Linked DNA regions of Homo sapiens: all the other regions are linked to region 3. Evidence: promoter capture Hi-C in 16 types of primary human blood cells and fetal thymus (Javierre and others, 2016). All regions are on one chromosome and are shown on one strand. The core of a region is centred on a gene start or on the middle of the fragment in contact, and the rest is flanking DNA. Distances in the headings are between cores, read along the strand shown. Region 1 holds the start of MIR4671 (microRNA 4671). Region 2 has its middle 25 kb from the start of MIR4671. Region 3 holds the start of PCNX2 (pecanex 2).

Evidence for each region. The method cuts DNA at HindIII sites, captures the fragments that hold promoters and counts their contacts. A CHiCAGO score of 5 or more calls a contact.
Region 1: a contact is called between a fragment that was not itself captured here and the fragment with the promoter of PCNX2 in region 3, in 3 of 17 cell types (naive B cells, total B cells and total CD8 T cells). The highest score is 7.4, in naive B cells.
Region 2: a fragment that was not itself captured here is called in contact with the fragment with the promoter of PCNX2 in region 3 in 1 of 17 cell types (total CD8 T cells); the score reaches 5.7 in total CD8 T cells.

The regions. Positions count from the first base shown.
Region 1 is chr1:234,305,358-234,309,481 of GRCh38, forward strand. SLC35F3 (solute carrier family 35 member F3) reads left to right here. Exons shown (of 8, transcript NM_173508.4): 4 at 3,744-3,963. It overlaps MIR4671 (microRNA 4671), which reads left to right and starts at 1,110; the gene lies at 1,110-1,182. The HindIII fragment of the contact is 3,319 bases long and covers 1-2,993 here.
Region 2 is chr1:234,329,711-234,333,572 of GRCh38, forward strand. No RefSeq gene overlaps it. Among named protein-coding and RNA genes, the nearest start is that of MIR4671, 25 kb to the left of the region's middle. The HindIII fragment of the contact is 924 bases long and covers 1,015-1,938 here.
Region 3 is chr1:233,294,431-233,298,353 of GRCh38, forward strand. It overlaps PCNX2 (pecanex 2), which reads right to left and starts at 1,295. Exons shown (of 34, transcript NM_014801.4): 1 at 896-1,295. The coding sequence starts at 1,048. RefSeq lists an enhancer at 681-730 and a silencer at 1,011-1,390. The HindIII fragment of the contact is 4,266 bases long and covers 1-3,642 here.

The DNA of each region.
Region 1 (4,124 bases), core at 84-2,583, 1.0 Mb after region 3:
AATTAAATATTCAGTAGCAGTATTGCTTTTTTTTTTTTTTTTTTGAGACAGAGTCTTGCTCTGTCACCAGGCTAGAATGCAGTGGCACCACCTTGGCTCACTGCAACCTCCGCCTTCCAGGTTCAAGCGATTCCCCTCCCTCAGTCTCCCAAGTAGCTGGGACTACAGGCGCGCACCACCATGCCTGGCTAATTTTTTTGTGTTTTTAGTAGAAATGGGGTTTCACCATGTTGGTCAGGCTGGTCTCGATCTCCTGACCCTGTGATCCACCCACCTTGGCCTCCCAAAGTGCTGGGATTACAGGCGTGAGCCACCACCCCCAGCCTAGTATTGCTTATTTTTATTAAGTCTTTCTTGAAGCTCTCAATTTAGATTTCATGGAAAAAAAGTTTTCGTTTCCCACTCATATTTCATTGGTTTATGAAATACTTAATTAAACCGTGTAATTGAAATACCAAGAACAGCTAACTGGCACAAGCAGGATCAGAAGTAAATACATCTAATCTTTGTATGTGACTCAATCCATAGGAACAGAAGGACTTGAGTGTTCTGGAAGTAACCTGCCACCCTCTAGTCTTAAGCCTGCCAGCAGCATCAGTGAGCAGAAGGAATGAAGGGTGTTAGACTGTCCCGTCAGTAATGTGGGCGTCAGTCAAGAGAGTGTTGACTGTGCTCCATTTGTATACCAAGAAGAGGGAGGTCTCTGGCAGAAATGGATTCATGTTCATCATCTGTCTTGGGTTCCCTTGCAATCAAGGACGTACATGGGCCAGCCAGATCCTGAGATATTGTGCTGGGTTTTTTTGTTTGTTTGTTTTTTGAGATGGAGTTTCACTCTTGTCACTTAGGCTGGAGTGCAATGGTGCAATCTCAGCTCACTGCAACCTCCGCCTCCCGGGTTCAAGTGATTCTCCTGCCTCAGGCTCCCGAGTAGCTGGGATTACCGGTGCTCACCACCATGCCTGACTAATTTTTGAATTTTTAGTAGAGACAGGGTTTCACCATGTTGGCCAGGCTTGTCTCAAACTCCTGACCTCAGCTGACCCGCCTCGGCCTCTCAAAGTGCTAGGATTACAGGTGTGAGCCACCGCTGCCGGCCAATATTATGCTATTTTAAGACCGAAGACTGTGCGCTAATCTCTTAGCACTGAAGATTAGTGCATAGTCTTTGGTCTCAAAATATCACAAAGCTCACCAGTCCAGGGGGCCAATTGTCTTGGTCTCATTAGAACCAAGACCTACCAACCTAAGCTGTGATCTCCTGGCCATGAGGCCTTAAAGGGCCAGCAGGACTCTGCCAGGCCTCAGAGTCTCACCTTTTTCATCTCCAGGATGGGATCCCCACTCTCTCCCCATTTCCAGCAACTTGGGCCATCAATACCAAGCCATATCTGTGCCCTACCTCCCTTCTCCATCCCATCTACAATGATCAGGCTTTGGAGGAGTCAAATATGGATTTTCAAAGAGGAAGTAGGTTGCCCAGTTAGCCTTGGATGGCCCCTTCCAGAAGATGAATTGTTTTTCATGACAGTGAGCCAGGTGGAACTTGGAAATTCTGCTTGCATGATGTTCTTCTCTTAGAAAGGGAAACCTCTAAGTATAGTGGAGATAGATTGACATTAATGGCCAGAAAGAATATTTGTATTTTATTTTGGTCATACTCAATGGACCAGCATCACTTTGTAGCCACCATAATCACAAACATAAAGGAAGCCATCATTCACGGTCACTGCCCCTGGGGGAACAGACTGTTCTGCAAACAGGGGCTTGGGAAAACCCCATAGAAAATGTAGCTGGAATATTGTATGAAAATTACATGGCAAACAGAAATATCAGCCTCTCAGTTAGATGAGGGTTGCAGCTATATAAAGCCAAAATGGAATCAATTCAGTTGAATCGGTTTCATGATAAATTTAGTGAAGTGAATGTTTTACCTGGCCCCGGTTTGTTCAGAAGCAACATAGGACTCTGTGTACAGAGAGAGGTGGCCAAACTGCACCAGACTCCACAAAACGGTAAGTGTGTTTCTCCTCTCTCAATATCCCAGGCTCTCATGCCTTTCTCTAAGGAGTTTTCCTGTTCCTGCTATGGACATCCCATAGTTGAGTCATGAACAAAGACAGATTTCCTTCTAGATTGATAGGAAGACTAGACAGTAAAATTAAATTTAAAATCTTACCCAATCCCCTTTGACTCTTGTTTTTAATTTTCCTCCTTTTTCTCTGCATTTTAATATTAAGTGGCACAGACCAGAGCTATTCCCCCAACCTAGTGCATTTGGTTTATTCTAGAGATGTCTTTTCTTTTGTTCTCGTGGCAGTTCATTTGGGACTGAGTCTATTTCTAGATCACTAGCAGGCTGACTCCCTTCCTGGCTGGCAGGCCATCCCCAGCTGTGGCAGTGCAGCACCATGTCCATGAGCCTGGACAGGGACTTCCATGAAGCAGTGCCTCCTCACTTGTCCATCTCCTTGCCTAGCTCATCGGGCCCAACCCAGCAATGATCTTCACTCCCCAACAGTCAAGGAAAGAGGCAGCTGTCAACCAAGCCTTCTCAGTGGCCTTTCTCCACACCCGAGCTCCCCACGGCCTCCTCTACTTCCTTCTTCTGCATGTAGAAGACTGGCTTTAATTTTCTTAAAGATTTTTTGAACTATCTGTGATCCTTCCCCCTAGACTCTAGAACGGCATCAAAAGACTTTCTTCTACAGATGTTTCCTCATCTCATTCCCGCGTTAGACTCTGAACTTTTGGATCTGCTTATTCTTCCTGTGCTAGATAGTGTCTTAGAGAAGTGGGGCTTCCACATGGTGGAATAGGTACCCTAAAAATGGCCTCAGGGAGAAAATAGGTCACGAGTTAACACTATTTGTATCATAGCCAAAATGTATTAGATATACCCAAGAAGTGACTGCCCCTGCCTGATCACAAAGATAATTCCAACTGAGGGCAACATTTTTTAAAACTATGTTTCAATGTGTTCTCTTAGAGCAAGCTTGTCCAACCCCCGTCCCACAGGCCACATGTGGTCCAGGCTGGCTTTGAATGAGGCCCAACACAAATTTGTAAACTTTCTTAAAACATTATGAGATTTTTTTTTTTGCGATTTCTTTTTGTAGCTCATCAGCTATCGTTAGTGTTAGTGTAGTTTGTATGTGGCCTAAGACAATTCTTTTTCTAATGTGACCCAGAAAAGCCAAAAGATTAGACACCCTGTCTTCCCCAGAGTATCCATCCTCCTCCATTACCGTCCTTCTCCCACAACCCCCACCCCCAGAGTATCCATCCTCCTCCATTACCGTCCTTCTCCCACAACCCCCACCCCCAGAGTATCCATCCTCCTCCATTACCGTCCTTCTCCCACAACCCCCACCCCAAAAAAGGTTTAGTGACCCCCTTCTCTTACTCAGCAAGTGACAGAATCCCTCAGTCAATCACCATAGAATTAGGCCTTCGGGTCAGATAACACACCAACATTACCTTCTGTATAGAACCATAAATTCCAAGCTTAACATGAACAGAAGGAAGAATCTGTGACATTAGATCACTGTGCAACATTTGTTTCAGTGGACTAAAGCAATAGGTTGAAGGGCTTTAATAGAAAGATGTTTATTAAAAATAATAAATTTTAAAACCCTGCCCCTTCCTATATTTGCTTAAAAAAAAAAAAACTTGCTATAGGAAATAAATGGTCTGTCTGAACCCAGGAAAATAATAACGATGCCTCTCTTTCCTTGTTTTAGGGAATGCTGTCGATTTTTTGGAGACAATGGCTTGACTTTGAAGGTGTTTTTTACCAAGGCAGCACCCTTTGGTGTTCTTTGGACACTCACAAACTACCTGTACTTACATGCAATAAAGAAAATAAACACTACGGATGTCTCCGTGTTGTTCTGCTGCAACAAAGCTTTTGTGTTCTTGCTCTCATGGATCGTTCTCAGGGACAGATTCATGGGAGTGAGGGTAAGTTCCTTATTATCTGTCTTCCTCCCTCACTCAGTCATGTCAACCAAAACCTGCCCATCGGCTTGCTTAGCTCCATGTGCTGGACCATGAGCATAAGCTGCTGACCACTTTCCTTCTGATTTGCAGCAGAAAATGAGCCCAGCAGAGGGCCCGGTTCT
Region 2 (3,862 bases), core at 227-2,726, 1.0 Mb after region 3:
GATCACTTGAGCTCGAGTTCAAGACCAGCCTGGGCAGCATGGTGAAACCCCGTCTCAATAAATAAATAAATAAAAGAAAACCTATCCGTGCATCACAGTGGTGCTCTTTTTTTAATTTATACCTGTTTATCAAGGATTAGAGTATAACTTTTTAAACTAATTTTATTTTGTCCTCAGACCACTCTCTTTTGGCATCTTCATTGATGGGAACTGTAAACCCTGTCACACCAACTAGATATAGCTATTCCCCCAGTGCTCCTGCTTTCCCTCTGTTATCTGCTTTCATTCACATGGTGAAAAATTGAATTTCCGGCATGTCTTCCTTGTGGGGAGGCTGAGAGTCTAGCACCTTTTTAGGATTTTGCAATTATGTGTGCAGTGTCGGTAGCTTGCTGTATGGTCCTGTCCCGTATGTTGAATTTCCTCAAAGATACCATGTGTGCGTATGTGTGTGCGTTTGCCACATTTACTGTGTTGTTTTTGATTAGTATCTCTTTCCCACCAATTAGACTATTGCTATTTGTTTAAATAAATGATCCCTGTAAACTAATCACCATACAATAATCACTACCTCTTTTAAATGATATCATTTAGAAACAGACATATAATCATCAAGGTGCAATCTGGCGACTTTCTTCATTCCCCTATTGCAAGAGTTACCTCTTCCTCTTTTTTTTTTTTTTTTTTTTTTCTGAGACGGAGACTCGCTCTGTCGCCCAGGCTGGAGTGCAGTGGCACAATCTCGGCTCACTGCAAGCTCTGCCTCCTGGGTTCACGCCATTCTCCTCCCTCAGCCTCCAGAGTAGGTGGGACTACAGGTGCCCGCCACAACACCCGGCTAATTTTTTGTATTTTTAGTAGAGACAGGGTTTCACCGTGTTAGCCAGGATGGTCTTGATCTCCTGACCTCATGATCCGCCCGCCTCGGCCTCCCAAAGTGCTGGGATTACAGGCGTGAGCCACGGCGCCCCGCCAAGAGTTACCTCTTAGGTTGACCATGGTGTTTTTCTCCAAAGCTTAATTTAAAAAATTCAAATCTTACCACTAGCACCACCTTAAAGTCCAAAGTACATTTGGACATTTAACTGCCCCCCCAGATTTGACTGTCCCAAGGCCATTATTACATCACAGGTTCTATGGGTTACTTTTATCTAAATTTTATCTCAATTTTCTGATAGCATTTAATTTCCTTTTTAGCTGAGAGAAAGTGCTTTCACACAGCCAGACAAAGTCCCGTCAGCTCCCCATGGACTCAATGACTCACCTCTCATCCTCTGAAGCGTTCACTGTGGGTCATGCACACTTGTCCATATTTCTAAATCCTAGGTCGACAAATAATGTACGCAGCCACCCTCACTCCCTGAACAATCAGAAATGGAGGTTTGGCCAGGCACATGGCTCATGCCTGTAATCCCAACACTTTGGGAGGCCAAGGAAGGTCCAGGAGATTGAGGCTGCAGTGAGCTAAGATTGTGCCACTGCACTCTAGCCTGGCAACAGAGTGAAACTCTGAGAAAGAAAGAGAAAGAGAACAGTGCATAGTCTTTTCATTTAGAATGAATTTTCACACCAAAAATATATCATTTGATCTCACACCTGGATGAATTCAGCACACACTGATGCCCACTTTATCATCTATGTGTTTCTAGAAGTTAGTCTCTTTTCCTTAGTTGATAATCTTTGTTTTCAAATTCTTAAAAATAGAAATCTCTCCAGATTCAGGTGCAGTGGTATGACAGAACAGTGCAATGGTTAATAAAATGAAATTTGCAAGCAGATAGAACTGGATTCAAAGCCCAGCTCTACCATTTATAGTTTTATCTCCTTGGTCAAGTCACTTGACATCTCTGAGTCTCAGTTTTCTCACCTGTAATATGAGGCTAATAATCAACTCTGCCATACAAGGTTGTCAAAGTAAAACAAAGTCATACATATAGAAGCTTAGCACAATCTCTAGACATAAGTAGTTGCTCAATCAGTGATAGCATTTACATCATCATCACCAGCATCATCATCACGGCAGGGCTGCCAAGCTTGAGCAAGAGCGTGTCAGCCAGGGTTGTGGCTGTATTTCTCTGGTTCTCATTCTACAATATCTCTCCCACTCTCCCTGTTTCCCCCTCTCCCAGTCTCTCCTTTGTCTACTCCCATCACATGGGGGTGTCCATCCCTTTCCATCCAAGGCCACATTCACCCTCATTTTCATGCAGTTTTGTGTCTTTAATTTTTACCTCTTTGAAAATCACTTTCAAATCTTCTCTGCCAAACTTCAAATCTGAGTTTTTCACTATCTTCCAGACATTCCTCCCAATGTATCCTAGCAACCCCTCCATCTTAACATGTCCAAAACTAAACACACAATTATCTCACTCAAAAACCTATTCCTCCTTCTTAACCTATTGATGTGAATTGGCATCATGATTATCTTATTTTCCCAAGCATAAAATCTTAATACTGGTCTTTAACTTCTTCCTTACTCCTACACTAGCAATCACTGTGCCATACACTCCAAGGCAGTTTCATTATAACTGCAAAGCATCTCTAGAAGCCTCTCCTCTACCACCACCCTACTTTATACCCCAGGACACACCACCTAGGGCATAGTCAGTCTCCTGATCATTCTCTACACCCTGTTGAGCTGGGATTGCTTCACTTTCTTATGCAAAGATCTTGAGTAGCTTCCTGTACTTTATTAAATAAACCTTCATTCCCTACCCTGGACTCAAGGCCCTCCATAATTTGGCAGTTGGTGACCTTTCCAACTCATGTGTCACTGCAACTACCACTGTCTCCTGCCCTCCAACCACATAGGACTGTTCACTATTTCTCTAATATATCCTATCCTCTCTTGTCCTGGTAACATGGTTTATTCCACATGGGATCCTTCCTCCCCTTCCCTCTCTTTCTGCCTAACCAAACCCTACATGTCCTGAAATATCTACTATACATGTTTCCTCCTTAATGAAACTTCCTCATTCTCCCCACAAGAATTAATATTCCTACTTGGTGACACTCCCCACTGCCACAATTTCTCTGTCTCTTCTGCCTTACACTAGAGTGAAGACTTACCTCCCCTTCTAGATGTAAATATCCTTGAAAGGAAAAGAAAATCTTGCTTTGTGCTTCTTATTCTATTTCCCTAGGCACACAGCAGAATCCCATACAAACAGTAAAATATAAATGTTTATTGACTTTTTTAAACTTTCAAAATAATTAAACATAATTTGTAACAGAGTTGTAGTCCTGTCAACTCTCCCTGACAGTGAAAAGTGAGCTGCTTAGGTATCAGCCATGGCCCATGATCAACCATCATAGAATCCTCCCAGGATCCTGTCAAATCATGATTCAGGTTACCTATCACATCCAGAATGATCCTAGTATTTTGCCCCAAAATACTAAGATTCATGAAAGTGTTATCAAACGGCCAAGAATAGAGATGGTCCTTTTTAATGTGAACTCTGTATCCTCAGACTTCCAGAAACCAGGCCAAGAATAGAGATGGTCCTATTTAATGTGAGCTCTGTATCCTCAGACTTCCAGAAACCAGCACATGGGTTCAGTTTCCCCATTTTCTATGGAAATCCTTGTCACACCTGTTGTCTATGTTGAATATTGCAAGGGGCCTGTTTGGTGTTTGAGTTTGCACTAGGGGCCCAGGAAAGACTGAATATAAAATGGTCCTTCCTAGATGGGCACGGTGGCTCACGCCTGTAATCCTAGCACTTTGGGAGGCCAAGGTGGGTGGATCACTTGAGCCCAGGAGTTCGAGACCAGCCTGGGCAACATTGTGAAACCCCGTCTCTACAAAAAATACAAAAATTAGGTGGGTGTGGTGGTATGCCCCTGTGGTCCCAGCTATTCA
Region 3 (3,923 bases), core at 45-2,544:
GAGTAAAGAGAAACCCAATCACAAATGTCAAACTCGGAATCCATCAGTCATGCAAACTCATTGACGATTTTTGCTGTAAAAAAAATGATCAAATAATGTGTTAGGAATAAAGTCCTCCAACCGACATACCAAAATTAGATTCTTGGCACGTAAAGTTTAATAAGACATGGAACACCTTACCTGTACAGCTTTTCAAAGCAGGTAAACCATTGTTTTAATTACGTATAATTTACCTAAGAAGGCCATCTATGTAGTTCTTCAGCAAGCACTCACTTACCATAACCCCACTAAAATGTCAAGCCCCATCTAAATGTTGTAATACTTTGTTTAGCATAAAGTACATTAGATTTATCCATTATTATATCTTCCTACAGATTTCTATACATAGTGGTGTAGAAATTACAATGTGAGTAACTGATAACTGAACTGCCTTCTCAAAGCAAAACAAGAAAGAAGGTGAGGGGGGAAAAAGGGGACAATAACTGAAATGAGTCTGCTTTTTACATTTCGTTTTTCCTCTTGGCTACAATCTACAGCATTTCACACCAAACATTATCCCAAGCTACCCAGCTCTAAGGCCTAGAGTTACCCACCTACAAAACAGGCTGCACGCTCCCTGCCACAAGCAGAGTGACTCATCCTAACATCCGGCATCAATTCTTAATGAGTCCCCGAGCCCCCGCAGTCCTGTCTACTTCTTTTCTTTTCCAGTGAATCCTCACAGTCCCCTTTCCCTGCATGTTCTCTGTCCCAAATTTCTGAAGCCCCTCCCTTTCCGTCTCTTAAGAATCTCTACGAACCCGAAAGCCCGTGAGGCTGATGGCACGTCTGTGGTTCCTTTCTCCTTCTTCCCTCCATACCCACAGCTCCCCGGGACCGGACCCTCCCCACTCACCAGGTGCAGGGCCAGGGGCAGCAGCAGGAGGAACAGCCACAGGTAGAGGTGGCAGCTGTTGGTGAACTTGCTCTGCTCCGGGTCGTGGTACCAGCCCCCGGTGAGCGCGGCCCACACGCCCTGCCGGAGCAGCTGCAGCACCTGGGACACCATGCCGGCTGCGCCCCGGGGCTGGTGAGCGCCCCGCTGCACCCTGCGCGCCCCGGCCGGATCTCCAGGCTCCCTCAGGTCTAACACCCGGGCCCGCGGGCCGCGCCCCCGCCGTCGCCGCCGCCGTCGCCCCCGCCGCCTCCTTCCACCCCACGTTTGAAGCTGGAGCTGCTCTTCCGCCCGGACCCGCGAACCGCGGCGCCGGAGCCGGCTGCTGCGGCCGGGCAGGTGAGCGCCATGTCCGAGGGAGGAAGGATTTTCCCATCGTGCTCAGAGGCGGCTGCTCAGAGGTTGCTTCCGAGGCTCCTCCCAACGCCCGCCCAGTCCCTCCTTAGCCTTCGCTGGGGGCCAGAAGGATTTCTGTGAGTGCCTCCAGCCTTTTCTTTCTCTCTTTCTCTTTTTCTCTCTTTCTTTCTCTCTCTCTTTTTCCTTCCTCCTCCCTCCCTCTCTCTCTCTTTCTTCCTTCCTTCCTTCCTTTCTCTCTCTCTCTCTCTTTCTTTCTCGCTCTTTTTTTCTTTCTTTCTTTCTTTTTTTTTTTTGCCTCTCCCCTCTTCCCTTCCCCTTCTCTCTGATCCTCCTGTTAGGGGACGTGCAAGGGTGTTCTCATGCAGAAGGCACAGACCCAGGACACGTTCCTTGTCCTTGTCCTTTTTTGCACCCAAGTATTTACCTCATACAAGGTCCTGTCACACAGCACTCAAAGTAATTTCTTCTCCTGAGCACTTCCTGCACGACTTCATTCTCCTTAATTAAGGGCTGACCCCAGACGTTCTATTAATCTAAGCTCTACCTGGTCCTCTGCCACTGATCTTCTGTCCTCCCTGACTGTTTCTCCTCCACTCCCTGTTGTCCAACTTGGTGGAGAAAGAAGATAACCACCTTCCTGATAAAATTTTAGGAGCTTCAGTTAGCCTTAGTTTTTTATCTCTTTCCTAGAACATAATCCCAGGTATTTAACTGGCTATATAGAACATTAGTCTAAATCTCTCTATGCTGTTTAGACAGGAAGACCCACTGGACAAAAAATTAATAATCTTTAAGCTATTATATATTTTATCATTTACAGTGGATACAGTTTAGATTCTCTTTTGAGAGTGGGTTTTGGAAAGGGAAGAGATAAAAAGGAGCTTGTCTTCCTTTGGGATGAGGAGCAGAAGCCCTGTGTGAGCTAGAGCCTTAGGGAGAGACAAAGATTAGAGGGCTCCATGATTCCCAACACGCCTTCCCTGCATCATCCTTACCTGGTCTGTCCCAACACATCACACTCCTCTGACTTGTGTGCCTGCCTGTGTCCTGGCCATGTTCTGGTCTGCAGCAGCACTTACTTATGGCTGCCCTAGTCAGGCCCAGTAAAGGCACACCAGCCTTCCCAGGCTGAAACGAAGATAAGGACAGGCCCATCATGAGGAGAGGGCCCAGGACATGAAAGGCCACTGAGTTACAGCAAAAGCCTCACTATGGTGTGTCTGCCATCAGCTATAACCACTCTTCCTTCTACTTTACATTCATCAGTAGGAATGAATCATCAAAATGGAATATGGCTGCTTTCTGTACTGGAAGAGTAATTTTCTTAAAGACACAGCTTGTAAACAAATGGGCTTTTTTGTATATCTGCTCAAAATGCTTGTAACCTACCAGGTGCTGTATAAGTGTTTAATGGGTTAATCAACCAATCAACTCCACATTAAAGGAGCGCCGTCACGTGCATGGGTATAGGAGGAAAGGTCATGCAACAGTCTGTTCCCACATGGAGGTTGTGTCCTTGTTCACTTGTCCTGATTCATCAAATATTTACTCAACACCTTCTGGGTGTCAAGCATTTTGCAGAAGACTAAGAAAGCAAATGTAAGTCAAATATAGTCCCTACCATGAAGGAGTTAATAAACCACAAGAGGAGGCAGGAAAATCAAAGACTTGCAATAAAATGTGCTGCCTGTTATCATATTGTAGAAATGGACACATATCCAGATATATGGAAGCACTGGGGCACTGTGGAGTGCAGAAGACATGTGTAAGTCTGTGAGGGAGGGGTGGTGTCAATAAGCACCAGGGAACTGGGTCTTAAAGCTAAATATTAGCTCTCAAGGCATGTAAGTGGGAATAGTTCTCCAGGCACATGTATATGTGGAAAGAGGAGCATGGCAATTTGGGGAAAATGTCAGGATAGTCTAACATGTCTGGAAGGTAGGGCTGGGAATGGGAGAAACGGAACAGTAGGAAACTTAATGAGATAAGCAAAGGTCAGTCTCCTGGGCCATACAAAGTTCTTCAGATCTTATCCTAGGCAATGGACAAGAACTGGAAGGCTGAAGCATGCATGTGACATGATCGATAGTACAGGGGCAAATGCTGAACACCTGAACCAGCAGGAAGGGACAAAATGTTGAGGGATCATATATGATCTTAAGGCTTAGAGATCAATTCAATGTGGAGATAAAGGGATAAGGAATGTAATGATTTTCCATTTTGGGTTGAGATGACTATACTGTAAAACTAATCCATTTATAAGATATAGGAAGATTAGCAGTGAAAGATGACTACACTGAATTTGAGTTGCTGAGGGACTTTGCAAGCCATCAGGGAGAGAATGTTTCTGAAGCTTAGGGGAGGTTTCTGAAATAGGATTTATACTTGAGAGAGATCAGCAGATAGTCCCATAAAACGGGATGATAATGTCCCAGAAAAAAATGAAGCCAAGAGGGCTGTGAATTACAAGGATTAAACACACAAGCAGGACAAAAGAGGGAGGAAAGGAGGAAAATAAGGTGAATCTGAAATTAGCAAATAAATGGGGAAAGAACAATTCAAGAAGGACGTGATTAATAGTGTCAAGTGCCATAGAAGAGGCCAAGTACAAAGGTTGTTATTAGGACACAGC